Regions from separate parts of the Homo sapiens genome. Here all the other regions are linked to region 3. Evidence: promoter capture Hi-C in 16 types of primary human blood cells and fetal thymus (Javierre and others, 2016). All regions are on one chromosome and are shown on one strand. Each heading gives the region's core, a stretch centred on a gene start or on the middle of the fragment in contact. The rest is flanking DNA. Distances are from core to core; before and after follow the strand shown. Region 1 overlaps DNAJC11 (DnaJ heat shock protein family (Hsp40) member C11). Region 2 overlaps DNAJC11 (DnaJ heat shock protein family (Hsp40) member C11). Region 3 holds the start of TAS1R1 (taste 1 receptor member 1).

Region 1 (3,775 bases), core at 644-3,143, 99 kb before region 3:
TTTAGAAAATATTCTCTCAATTCTAAATTTCTTCATATTAGAACATAAAAATATCTTGGCCCAAGTATTTTGACAGGTATTGTCTTTTTAACTTTATTCACAACAGTTTTCTTTGACACATTTTTCTAAATCATCTTTATTTATGATCTTTTGAATGTTTTATCAAATTTAGATGCTATAAAACTGTAGACCTTTTCAATTCCATTTCATTCTTGAACAGAATATAAATTTACCTAATTAAACATGACAGCTCCACCAAGATTCCTACACAAAATAAAGATACTCCAAAATGCCGTTATGGAATTTCAAAATTGTATCTCATTATATCTCATAAACTCTTATTTATTTTGTATGGTTTTTTTCCCCCTAAAAAGATCAGCTTCAGATTATTTTTCATTACAAGCTTTATTTTCAGTGATTGTAATTTTTTTTTTTTTTTTTTTTTTAGACGGAGTCTTGTTCTGTTGCCCAGGCTGGAGTGCAGTGGCACAATCTTGGCTCACTGCAACCTCTGCCTCACAAGTTGAAGCAATTCTCCTGCCTCAGCCTCCTGAGGAGCTGGGATTATAGGTGCGCACCACCACGCCCGGCTAATTTTTGTATTTTTAGTAGAGATGGGGTTTCACCATGTTGGTCATGTTGGTCTCAAACTCCTGACTTCGTGAGCCGCCTGCCTCGGCCTCCCAAAGTGCTGGGATTACAGGCATGAGCCACCACACCCGGCCTGTTCTTGTTTTTGAGACAGAGTCTTGCTCTGTCACCCATGCTGGAGTGCAGTGGCGCAATCTTGGCTCACTGAAACCTCCACCTTTCAGGTTCAAGCAGTTCTCCTGCCTCAGCCTCTAGAGTAGCTGGGACGTGTACCTGGCTAATTTTTGTATTTTTAGTAGCAACAGGGTTTCTACCACGTTGGCCAGGCTGGTCTCGAACTCCTGACCTCAGGTGATCCCACTCCCTCAGCCTCCCAAAGTGTTGGGATTACGGGTATTAGCCACCACACCTGGCCACAGATTGTTCATATACTGCCATGCAGTTTTGTTGATTATTCAGAATCATCATCATGACAGAGATGTGTTCATGCTGTTACTCTGTGAATATAAAAAATTTGTAAATTTTGGCAACTACAACTTCATTTTCCATGGGTAGAATACCACAGCTTGTTTTGACACAATTATGCATTATGCGTATCACTACAACTAATTCTAAGGATGTTTCTAGTCCATGGGTTTCTTGATTTAATAAGAAAATTTTTTACCATAACACTATACTGCCTCCAAGTTGGTATTTGAATATCACCGCAAAAACAAACACGTTTACCTTTAATGTGGAACTTTTTGATTGAGTTTATAGTAGCATTCATAATGTCAGGTGTTTCACCCTCAACAGAAATCAAGTAATTATTAGGGTTAATGCATTTTCAGATTGAAGCATCTGATAGAAAGCTAGCACCAGCTGGGCGCGGTGGCTCACACCTGTAATCTCAGCACTTTGGGAGGCCGAGGCGAGTGGATCATGAGGTCAAGAGATCGAGACCATCCTGGTCAACATGGTGAAACCCTGTCTCTACTAAAAATACAAAAATTAACTGGGCATGGTGGCGTGCGCCTGTAGTCCCAGCTACTCGGGAGACTAAGGCAGGAGAATCGCTTGAACCCAGGAGGCGGAGGTTGCAGTGAGCCAAGATCGTGCCACTGCACTGCACTGGACTAATGGCTAATGTTGCCTGGTGACAGAGCGAGACTCCATCTCAAAAAAAAAAAAAAAAGAAAAGCTAGCAAAAAAACATTGTTTCAATGGGCTGCAAAAAGTTTAGTTAAAAAAATGTGTGTGGCCATGGTTTTATATACTGGATTAAGATAATGTCCGTTTTTAAAGTTGTGACTATCAAAGAATAATAAACATTGATTTTCTGAGTAACAAGCATTTTTATCAGCAAAATTTTAGCTTAGAATTCCTTGAGCAAATACAGTGTTCTGTTTCTCAAACTTAATTCTCATTAATTTGAGAAGGTGGATTAATTTTAAAGTCTCCCATTTGTTCATAATTTGTGCTGCTTTATCTTTGAAGGTATTTTTATTTAAAGAGTTTTAGGGTAGTTTTGTGGTATAAGGTTGTTTACCAAAAAATGTTTAATCCATGTAGCTCATTTCTAGGTGGTTTTGTGCATTCTTGGGTCCTGTTTGGTCTCTGAAAATCAAACTGTCTAGCTCTTACTCCTTTGACTAACACTTTTGTCTTTGGCGTGTCATTGCTCTGCAGACATGCGGACCGGCTCTCCTGGTCAAATGATGTTTTCTAGCTCTGGACGTCTGTGGTGCTCTGCAGTTTGGTTCGGACTGTGACATTCATGCTTTGTGGGCTTCCTGGTGGAGTGTCCTACCTAAACCCAGTGAACCCTGAAGTCAAATGACTTGTTCAATTAAAGCGAGCTGGCTGTTGAAGTGTAGCATTGTCTTTCATTCCACAAATACCACCCGTTCTGCTGACGGCTTGTTTTTCTGCCCCAGGGAACGATCAGCGTTGGAGTAGATGCCACCGACCTTTTTGATCGCTATGATGAGGAGTATGAAGATGTGTCCGGCAGTAGCTTTCCGCAGATTGAAATTAATAAAATGCACATATCCCAGTCCATTGAGGTAAAGCACACAACCACCTCTCCGAGTACAGCAAGGGCTCGAGTTAATGAGGCACAGCACACCAAGCAGCTGGAATGAGAGTCTGCCCAGGGTTTTTCTCATCTTTATTTATGAAAGGATGCAATTAGCCACTTAAAAAAGAAAGCGCTTCATTCCCAGCCGTGTGTTACCGCTGTGCTGGCATGTGAGCCAGCAGGAGTGTGGGCTGGGGCACTTGGCTCCCAAGGTCTTGGGCCTTTCCAGCAGAGGGTGTTAATGGTCTGGGAGAAGTAGAGGCCCAAGGTCATGGGGTTCTGGGAGAGAAAGCAGACCTCCATGGATCATTCTAACAACCAGTTTTAGTTTTAAGGCAAATTCTGCTAGGTGCCGCAAGGCTATAGCAGCTCTCATCCTGAGCCCTGGGCACGCGAAAATGTCACCATTCTGCCCACTATTTGGATGTGACGAGGTCAGGTCATTCTCCTGAGCGTTTATAGTAGGTCTTTGTCTCCTCAGCTCATTAATTTATTCTCCATTGCATCAGCCAACAACGTGGAGTCCTAACTTGGGGAAATTTGCCCCCTCTTGGAGCTCCCTGAGTCAGTTGATACAGAATACAGCCATGGGAAGGTCTTCAGTCCCCCTGGAACCCTGATGGCAAACCACAGAGGGAAGGCACACAGTGAAGTCACTGTGCTATCTGATACCATTGGGACATGCAGCCCCATGTTTCCCCTGGTGTTGTGAAATGTGCCCATTAAAGCTTTTGCAAAGCATATTACCCTCGTGGTCACATGCAGACCAAATAACAAAGCGGAAGAAAAGTGAAGCTGTTGCGGCAGTTCTGCATCCATGTGTGCTTCTGAACAGAGGAATCGTCTGCACCTTTGGCCTTGGGCTCACAGTGCGTTCTTTAGGCTGCTGCCATTGGCACTTCCTGTTGTTTTGATTCATTCATTACCAGCAAATACCATTTTTAGGCACCCTTGACAGCGACAGACACAGCCATCCTCTCTGGAAGCCTCTCAACCCAGAATGGAAATGGAGGAGGTTCCATTAACTTTGCGCTCAGACGAGTAACTTCGGCAAAGGGATGGGGAGAGGTAAGAATGTCTATTGGCTGAGTTGTGTTGTCTGTGCAAAGCCTTATTTCTGAACAT
Region 2 (4,266 bases), core at 1,434-3,933, 120 kb before region 3:
TGTCTTTGGGAATATTTGAAACCATTAGAGCCCCCTTCCTTGCCCTGTATTTTTGTTTTAGAGGTTGAGTTTTGGACTTGGCTTTGCCACTTTGTAACTCTGAACTTGGGCCAGCCACTCATCTGACTTGTCCTTCGTTCCCTAACCTGTCAAGTAAAACGGAAGAGGGATGGACCGAACCAGTAATTTTTAACCCAGGTGTGGGGCGGGAGCAAGCGGAGCAGGGGGTTGATGGGAGACGATTTCTTCAAGGGTGCAGTTCTGTCTCCATATACACTCCCTTCCACCCTCCACAGTTCTGTGCCTCTCTCTCCACCTCAGTTCTGAATAATTGCTGTGAGGAAATATTTCAGATGGGAGTATGTTATGCACGTGAGCAAAATGGAAGCAGAGTTGCTGGGGTTGCATTGCCTGTAATGACCCTTTCAATTCTCATGTATTATAATATTCAAGCTTTGTCAAATGTGATGAGTGAAACAAAATATATAGCAAATGTGTCGCCCTGGGCAGCCATGCTGTGGGAGAGCAGTCACTAAAATCCAGACAATTTGTTTGCTTTCACACTGCCACTGACTAGCAGTAGAGTCTTGGGCAAGTCATTGGGCTACTAGTGCTTCCATGTTACTATCTGAAAAATGAATATGAAGATTAGTTGTGAAACCCTTAAGTTGCTACAGGGATATATAGGTATCATTAAAGAAACTTTGTTCTGACCCAGGCAAAGTGGCTCACACCTGTAATCCTAACACTCTGGGGAGCCAGGCTGGGAGGATCACATGAGGCCAGGAGTTCGAGACCAGCCTGAGAAACATAGCAAGACCCTGTCTCTACAAAACATTTTTTTAAAAATTAGTCGGGCTTGGTGGCGCACACCTGTATTCCCAGCTATTCAGGAGGCTGAGATGGGAGAATCACTTGAGCACAGGAGGTTGAGGCTGCAGTGAGCTATGATCACGCCACTACACTCTAACGTGGGCAACAGAGCAAGACCCTGTCTCACAAAAAAAAGAAAGAAACTTGGTTCTGATGCCCAATAAATTTTGCTAGTCTGTTTAATAACATTGAATTGACCCTCGTTGAGTTATATTTTCACCATCATGTAAGATTACCCTTGAAGTTCCTTCGTTTTTTTTGTTTTTTTTTTTTTTTTGAGACCAAGTTTTGCTCTTGTTGCCCAGGCTGGAGTGCAGTGGCGCAATCTTGGCTCACTGCAACAAGTGATTCTCCTGCCTCAGCCTTCCTGAGTAGCTGGGATTACAAGGCATGCGCCACTACACCCAGCTAATTTTGTATTTGTAGTAGAGACAGGGTTTCTCCATGTTGGTCAGGCTGGTCTCGAACTCCTGACCTCAGACGATCCACCCACCTCGGCCTCCCAAAGTGCTGGGATTACAGGCATGAGCCACCACACCTGGCCAAAGTTCATTCAATGTTTAGTCTCAAGCATGCGTGCCTGTCTCTTCCAGTTCTGGCATCAAAGCCTTGTAAAGGCCTTCAGATGAGGAGTGGAAGAAAAGCAAAAGAGGATCCTATTTCCTTTCCTGCCTTTCCACTACTGCTTCATATTGGTGGCTCATGGGCCATATTCCACTAATAGCCTTTTTTGGTGTGTGTGTGTGTTTGTGAGAGAGAGTGCGCGCGTGCTCTGTCGCCCAGGCTGCAGTGTGTTGGTGCCATCATGGCTCACTGCACCCTCGACCTCCCAGGCTCAAGTGAGTCTCCTACCTCAGCCTCCCAAGTAGCTGCGACTACAGGCACACACCACCATGCCTAGCTAATTTTTAAATTTTTTGTAGAGATGGGGTCTTTCTATGTTGCCCAGGCTGGTCTCAAACTCCTAGCCTGAAGCTACCCTCCCCCCTCAGCCTCCCAAAGCGCCGGGATTACAGGTGTGAGCCACCGCACCCAGCCTGTTGCCATTTTTTGATTGCCTCACACAGTGAATTCTAGTTGCTAACATTTCAACCCTGGGAGGTTCTGCATGATAATTCAGTCTTCTGTCTTTTCTTGAAACATCTGAAGATCTGGTAACAGTGGATCTGAGGAGCCCTTGCCCTTCAGATGGGGCTGGGCTGTCCAATTTGTCCCAGTCCCCACCACTCCCCCTTGCGTTATGTCTGGCTCTTCTCATCTGCATGTCCTCCTGGCTCCAGTGGGCAGTTGGTATTTGGCCTCTGGCTTGATGGGAATAGCAGTGCTTCCTGTCACATTGGTTCATTGCAGCTAGGTATTAAGCCAAATAACTTAGCATTTTCTCATCCAAAAAGGAAAGTAGAATTCTGTTGTATTTATTCAATTTCCCCGTCACTCTTTATACACTCCTTAAAGCTTCTTTGTTTTTTTAAGATGTGGGTTGGCTACAATTTTTCAAGTCAGCAATTGGAGTCACTGAAAAGCTGTAGGACCCCATTACATATTCCCTCTTCAAAGACTAGGTTTTTAGTCCCCAGCAGCATTATCCCAATCAGTGGAGCACTGGGGTCTGCTGGTAGAATATTGTATGGCTTCCTCTCATCAGACCAGATTATCTTCCCATTAGAAACAAAGCAAATCCACACGCAAAATGGTGGTTATACAAATATATAGGGCTGGGTGCAGTGGCTCACACCTGTAATTCCAGCAGTTTCAAAGGCTGACACAGGAGAATCACTTGAGCTCAGGAGTTCGAGACCAGCTGGAGCAACACAGTGAGATCGCATCTCTACAAGCGATAAAAAATGAAAAAATTAACCAGGCATGGTGGTGAGTGCCTGTAATCCTACTTCTTGGGAGGCTGAGGTGGGAGGATCGCTTGAGCCTAAGGAGGTCGAGGTTTCAGTGAGCCATGATCACACCACTGCACTCCAGCCTGAGTGACAGTGAGACTGTGTCTCAAAAAATAAAAAATGAAATAAATAAATGAAAATAAAAATAAGTGCACAGTCGTGGGTGGCAAGTGGTTAAACATTATTTTCGTATTTTTTTAGTAAACTAAGGAAGTCAGGTTCTCATAGATCAGAATTGGCTTTTTTTTTTTTTTCATGTGGATACTAAGCTTTTGCTGCAAGATAAAAATGCTTTCAAAGAAAACTAAATGAAGACACCTCCCCAGATATTTACTCGGATATGTATTAGTGCTTAACATCCAATAGGAAAATTGAGCCCATTATTCATAATACACAGAAAGTCTCATTGAACTCAAGCACATTCTATGAAGCTGGCATCAACATTCCTTCAAGGAATTCCTACAGCTGGATGGATTGTTCCATATGAGGATTCTCTCACTGCAATAATAGCTTTCACTCCAGGGAGGAAGCTGTATTCCCTTCATGCTGTTGCTGGTATTTTTAGACTGTTAAACTCTTCAGTTGCTGAAGGGTATCCATTTACCACATATTTATTAGGCTACCATATGGGTAGTCAGTGAAGGGTGAAGGGCATTGACTGTTGGTATCCTGAGTGTCTGAGACGCCTTTAATCCAAAGATCTCAAAGTACTCCACCAACTAGAAATCACTCCCCAACCCTGGAGCTTCTTTAGAATGTACAAAATACTGGCCCAGTTGTCAGTCATTAGGTAAATTTTCAGACTTTTTTTTTTTTGAGACAGAGTCTCACTTTGTCACCCAGGCTAGAGTGTAGTGGCACGATCGTGGCTTACTGCAGTCTCGATCTCCCAGCTCAGGCCATCCTCCCACCTCAGCCTCTCAAGTAGCTGAGACTACAGGCATGCATCACCACGCCCTGCTAATTTTTTTATTTTTATTTTTTGAGACGGAGTCTTGCTCTGTTGCCCAGGCTGAGTGTAGTGGCGTGATCTTGGCTCACTGCAACCTCTGCTTCCGGGGTTCAAGTGATTCTCCTGCCTCAGCCTCCCGAGTAGCTGGAATTACAGGTGCGCACCACTATGCCTGGCTAATTTTTGTATTTTTGGTAGAGACAGAGTTTCACCATGTTGGCCAAGCTGGTCTCGAACTCCTGACCTCAGATGATCCTCCTGCCTTGGCCTTCCAAAGTGCTGGGATTACAAATGTGAGCCACCGTGCCCAGCCCCCCCACTTTTTTTTTAAGGCTTCTAGAGACTGTTATTCTTTGGGAGGATTCCCAAGGAATGAGATGTAACCATTCCCAACTTATAAAACCAGCCATACTGTTTACTTCTTGAGGTTGGTTAGTGATGTTTGTGCAGATATCCACATTGAAAATGAAATTGGTCATTTTTTCAGAATGGCAAAAATCTAACCTTGAACTGTGAATACTTTGACAGGGTTGATTCTGGTAATGGCTG
Region 3 (4,162 bases), core at 728-3,227:
GAAGCCGGTTTTCATGTCTTCCCTCCTCCTGCTCTACCCAATCTCTCTTCCCAGCCCATTCTCTTTATCTCTTTATCCAGGTTTCTAGCTGTAGCCCTTCGAGTAGGTCGTCATACACTAGATTTCCAGAAACTTCTTCCTGAGCCAACCATCTCGTGTGCTTCATGGGTAGGACATCCTGCAGCCAAGCCTCGGCAGCATTCTTGGGCCTCTGGGTCTGTGACTTCCACAGTCTGCAAGCAACTGTCTTCGTCTTTTTTTTTTTTTTTTTTTTTGAGATGGAGCCTCGCTCTGTCGCCCGGGTTGGAATGCAATGGTGTGATCTTGGCTCACTGCAACCTCCACCTCCGGGTTCATGCGATTCTCCTGCCTCAGGCTCCTGAGTAGCTGGGATTACAGGTGCACACCACCACACCCGGCTAATGTGTTGTATTTTATGTAGAGACAGGGTTTCACTATGTTGGCCAGACTGATCTTGAACTCCTGACCTCGTGATCCGCCTGTCTCAGCCTCCCAAAGTGCTGGGATTACAGGCGTGAGCCACTGTGCTCGGCTGCAACTGTCTTCTTTAAAAGAAAAGCAGGCCGGGCGCGGTGGCTCAAGCCTATAATCCTAGCACTTTGGGAGGCCGAGGTGGGCGGATCACCTGAGGTCGGGAGTTCGAGACCAGCCTGACCAACATGGTGAAACCCCTGTCTCTACGAAAAATACAAAAATTAGCTGGGTATGGTGACACATGCCTATAATTCCAGCTACTCCCGAGGCTAAGGCATGAGAATCACTTGAGCCCAGGAGGAGGAGGTTGCAGTGAGTCAAGATTATGCCACTGCACTCCAGCCTGGATGACAGACTGAGTCTCCATCTCAAAAAAATATAGATAGATAGATAGATAGATAGAAATAAAAGAAAAGCAGTAGTTTCCCTCTACCTAGATTGTTGACTTCATGATGGCACCAACCTAATTTATATTTGTCAAGCTCCTAAAGCATCTAATGGGATGTGTCTTCCCTTCCCACCCCATGAAGAACCATGGAGAATCCTACTTGTCATCTGGGACTCTAGGGAACTTTGAACATGGGTAGGAGTGGAGAGAAGATAGAAGAGGGAAAAAGCGGCTGGGCGCGGTGGCTCACGCCTGTAATCCCAGCACTTTGGGAGGCCGAGGTGGGCAGATCACGAGGTCAGGAGATCGAGACCATTCTGGCTAACACGGTGAAACCCCGTCTCTACTAAAAATACAAAACATTAGCTGGGCGCAGTGGCGGGTGCCTGTAGTCCCAGCTACTCGGGAGGCTGAGGCAGGAGAATGGCGTGAACCCGGAAGGCGGAGCTTGCAGTGAGCTGAGATCGCGCCACTGCAGTCCCACCTGGGTGAAAGAGCGAGACTCCGTCTCAAAAAAAAAAAAAAAAAAAAAAAGAAGAGGGAAAAAGCTGCCCTTGCTTAGGCCTGGCCACCTAGGTATGGTACAAAGCCAAGAACCAATTTCAATGAAGTTACAATACAACACATTCTAACAGCAAGGGTGAAATAATTGGAAACTGGCCGAAGTGTCTAGGAAGGTCTAGCCAGCACTTAGGTGGCAAGTGGATTGATGAACAAGGCCTGGGGACAGTTCAAGGGGCAAAGGCAGAGGCAAGGTCCTGTTTGGAGGATGGCAGCCAGAGGGGCCCTATAGCCAGGGGTCCCACTAAGTGTGGCTCTGCTGGCCCCTCACTCACCTGTCACACAGGGTCACCTCGGGTCTGTGCCTCACCTGCAGACAGCCAGAATGGAGAGGGAACAGGCCTGCCAGGAGGTAATCTCCGGGGAGGGTGAAGTCAGGAGAAGACTCCGTGCTATGGCAGGCAAAGGCCCAGCAGCAGGAAATGAGAAGCTGCAGGCCGACCAGGCGAGCCGTGCAGAGCAGCATGCTGGCCAGATGCCCGCGCCTGGCATGGCCAAGGAGTGGCCTCTAAGGAGGCCAGTTGCTTAAATAGAAGGCAGCTGCCGGATGCTTCCTAACTTCAGGCCCCCAAAAGGGGTGGGACTGGAGCCCAGTGGCTGAAGCAGGACTGTTTGCCTTGACATTCCGGGCCTGCGGTCCCACTCAGGAACTGGGCAGGACGAAGGCACAGATGCAAACCAGGTGGCACCCAGTGACCCTTCCTCTGGACGGTTGTGGGTTCTGTCCACGCTCTGTGACTTCACCTGGCTTAGAAAAGGAGCTCTGGCATTTTGGGGCGAGGTGGGAGGCTGGAACACAATTTCTCCGGGTGTTGCGAGGTTTCAGAACTTTTTACCTGGGCCTCAGTTTACTAAATGAGACACAGCTTTGAGTCGACACCCCCCTGCCCCAGTCTCCAGTTTTCTGACATTAAGATTCTGAGCAAATTGTCATATACTTTCGCCTTGTTACCCAGGGTTGCTCACTTCGAAACAAATGCATGCAAACCGAAGGTATGCAAATAGACATGTTTTGTTTAAACTGCCAATCCTAAAGCTTTTTCTGCAGGAGAAAAAAAATATCCCGGTGTTTTTCCGGAGAGGTGGCCCATGGCTGGTCGCGAGGTTTCTGGCTTTCTCTCTCCGGCCGGCTGGGGTAGGGAATTTGCGTAACGTAAATGGAGTCCTCCGTGGAGCCCCTCGACCAGATCGGCTGGAACCTCCTAGTGTGCTTCCGGAGGTTGCCGGCAGAGGGCGCCGGCGGCTCGGAGGCCCCTCTTTTCGGCAGCTGGGAGGGCAGCGGGGCGGACCGACGGGATCTCGCGAGATTCTCGCGCGGTAGGCCCTGAGGACCCAGCATGGCGGACTCGGGACTGCTGCTAAAGCGGGGTTCCTGCCGTTCCACTTGGCTGCGGGTCCGCAAGGCCCGGCCCCAGCTCATCCTCAGCCGCCGGCCCCGCCGCCGGCTCGGGAGCCTGCGCTGGTGCGGTCGGCGGCGCCTACGGTGGCGGTTACTGCAAGCCCAGGCGTCCGGCGTGGACTGGAGGGAGGGAGCCCGCCAGGTGTCGCGCGCGGCGGCGGCCCGGAGACCCAACACCGCGACCCCCAGCCCGATCCCTAGCCCGACCCCGGCCTCCGAACCCGAGTCCGAACCCGAACTCGAATCCGCCTCGAGTTGCCACCGGCCTCTCCTCATCCCACCGGTGCGGCCCGTGGGCCCCGGCCGCGCGTTGCTGCTGCTGCCGGTCGAGCAGGTAGGTGGGGGGCGCCGGTAGTAGTCCCCGAGGGCAGGGAGGGCTGGAGAGGCAGCCCCGGGAGAGCTGCAGGGTAGGAGAGGACCGTGGTCCCCCGGGCCTGTTCTCTGGCTGCCAGTCGGATTCAAGTCCATCCTCTTGATGGTTGGTGGCAACTAGGCTCCCCTGAGCAGCAGGGTAACAGGTACCCTGCTAAGGGGTCCCTAGGCCTTACGAGCTAAAGGGACTTTATTTTGTTTTGTTTTCTTTCTTTCTTTTTCTTTTTGAGACAGAGTCTCACTCTGTCCCCCAGGCTGGAGTGCAGTGGCACAATCTCGGCTCACTGCAACCTCCGCATCCCGGGTTGAAGCGATTCCCCTGCCTCAGCCTCCGGAGTAGTTGGGACTACAGGCGCGTGCCACCTCGCCCGGCTATATTTTTTGTATTTTTAGTAGAAACGGGGTTTCGCCATGTTAGCCAGGATAGTCTCGATCTCCTGACCTTGTGATCCACCCGCCTCGGCCTCTCAAAGTGCTGGGATTACAGGTGTGAACCACCGCACCTGGAACTCTGAAAGGGATTTTAATAGTTAAAAAAAAAAAAGGTTGCAATTACTGAGAGCTCAGAAATTCCAGGATTTAAGGGTTCCAAAAGTGTTTTAGGCTTTGAACCCATTTAAACATCCAGCTCTCTTACGGAGTAGTTGTCCCTCTCTCTAAGTGTTTACAGACGAGGAGACTGAGGTTGGGTAACTTACACAGTAGAGGGAGAGCTAGGAGTCGAACTCAGGCAGCCTGATTCTTAACGTGGATGCCATTCCTGGAGATTCCCTGTCTAATGCAGGAGGGAAGGCAAAACCCAGGAAGTTCTGGAAGAGACTTGGCAAGCTGTGGGTCTTTAAAAGGACAGAGTGGTAGAGTCTGTCTGAACCAGGAGCACAGAGCCGAGTTCACGGTCACCATGCTTTCTCTGTAGCTGCCATGGGGTATGATCTTAGTTTAAAAAT

The links. The method cuts DNA at HindIII sites, captures the fragments that hold promoters and counts their contacts. A CHiCAGO score of 5 or more calls a contact.
Region 1: a contact is called between a fragment that was not itself captured here and the fragment with the promoter of TAS1R1 in region 3, in 1 of 17 cell types (neutrophils). The highest score is 7.6, in neutrophils.
Region 2: a contact is called between a fragment that was not itself captured here and the fragment with the promoter of TAS1R1 in region 3, in 4 of 17 cell types (fetal thymus, neutrophils, erythroblasts and 1 more). The highest score is 5.4, in fetal thymus.

What each region holds. Positions count from the first base shown.
Region 1 is chr1:6,652,772-6,656,546 of GRCh38, reverse strand. It overlaps DNAJC11 (DnaJ heat shock protein family (Hsp40) member C11), which reads left to right. Exons shown (of 16, transcript NM_018198.4): 5 at 2,508-2,636; 6 at 3,596-3,718. Among named protein-coding and RNA genes, the nearest start is that of THAP3, 30 kb to the right of the region's middle. The HindIII fragment of the contact is 2,975 bases long and covers 406-3,380 here.
Region 2 is chr1:6,674,043-6,678,308 of GRCh38, reverse strand. All of the region lies in intron 3 of DNAJC11 (DnaJ heat shock protein family (Hsp40) member C11), which reads left to right. Among named protein-coding and RNA genes, the nearest start is that of DNAJC11, 26 kb to the left of the region's middle. The HindIII fragment of the contact is 706 bases long and covers 2,331-3,036 here.
Region 3 is chr1:6,553,122-6,557,283 of GRCh38, reverse strand. TAS1R1 (taste 1 receptor member 1) reads right to left here and starts at 1,977. Exons shown (of 6, transcript NM_138697.4): 1 at 1,720-1,977. The coding sequence starts at 1,910. It overlaps NOL9 (nucleolar protein 9), which reads left to right and starts at 2,771. Exons shown (of 12, transcript NM_024654.5): 1 at 2,771-3,177. The coding sequence starts at 2,782. RefSeq lists a silencer at 2,806-3,065. The HindIII fragment of the contact is 19,423 bases long and covers 1-2,482 here.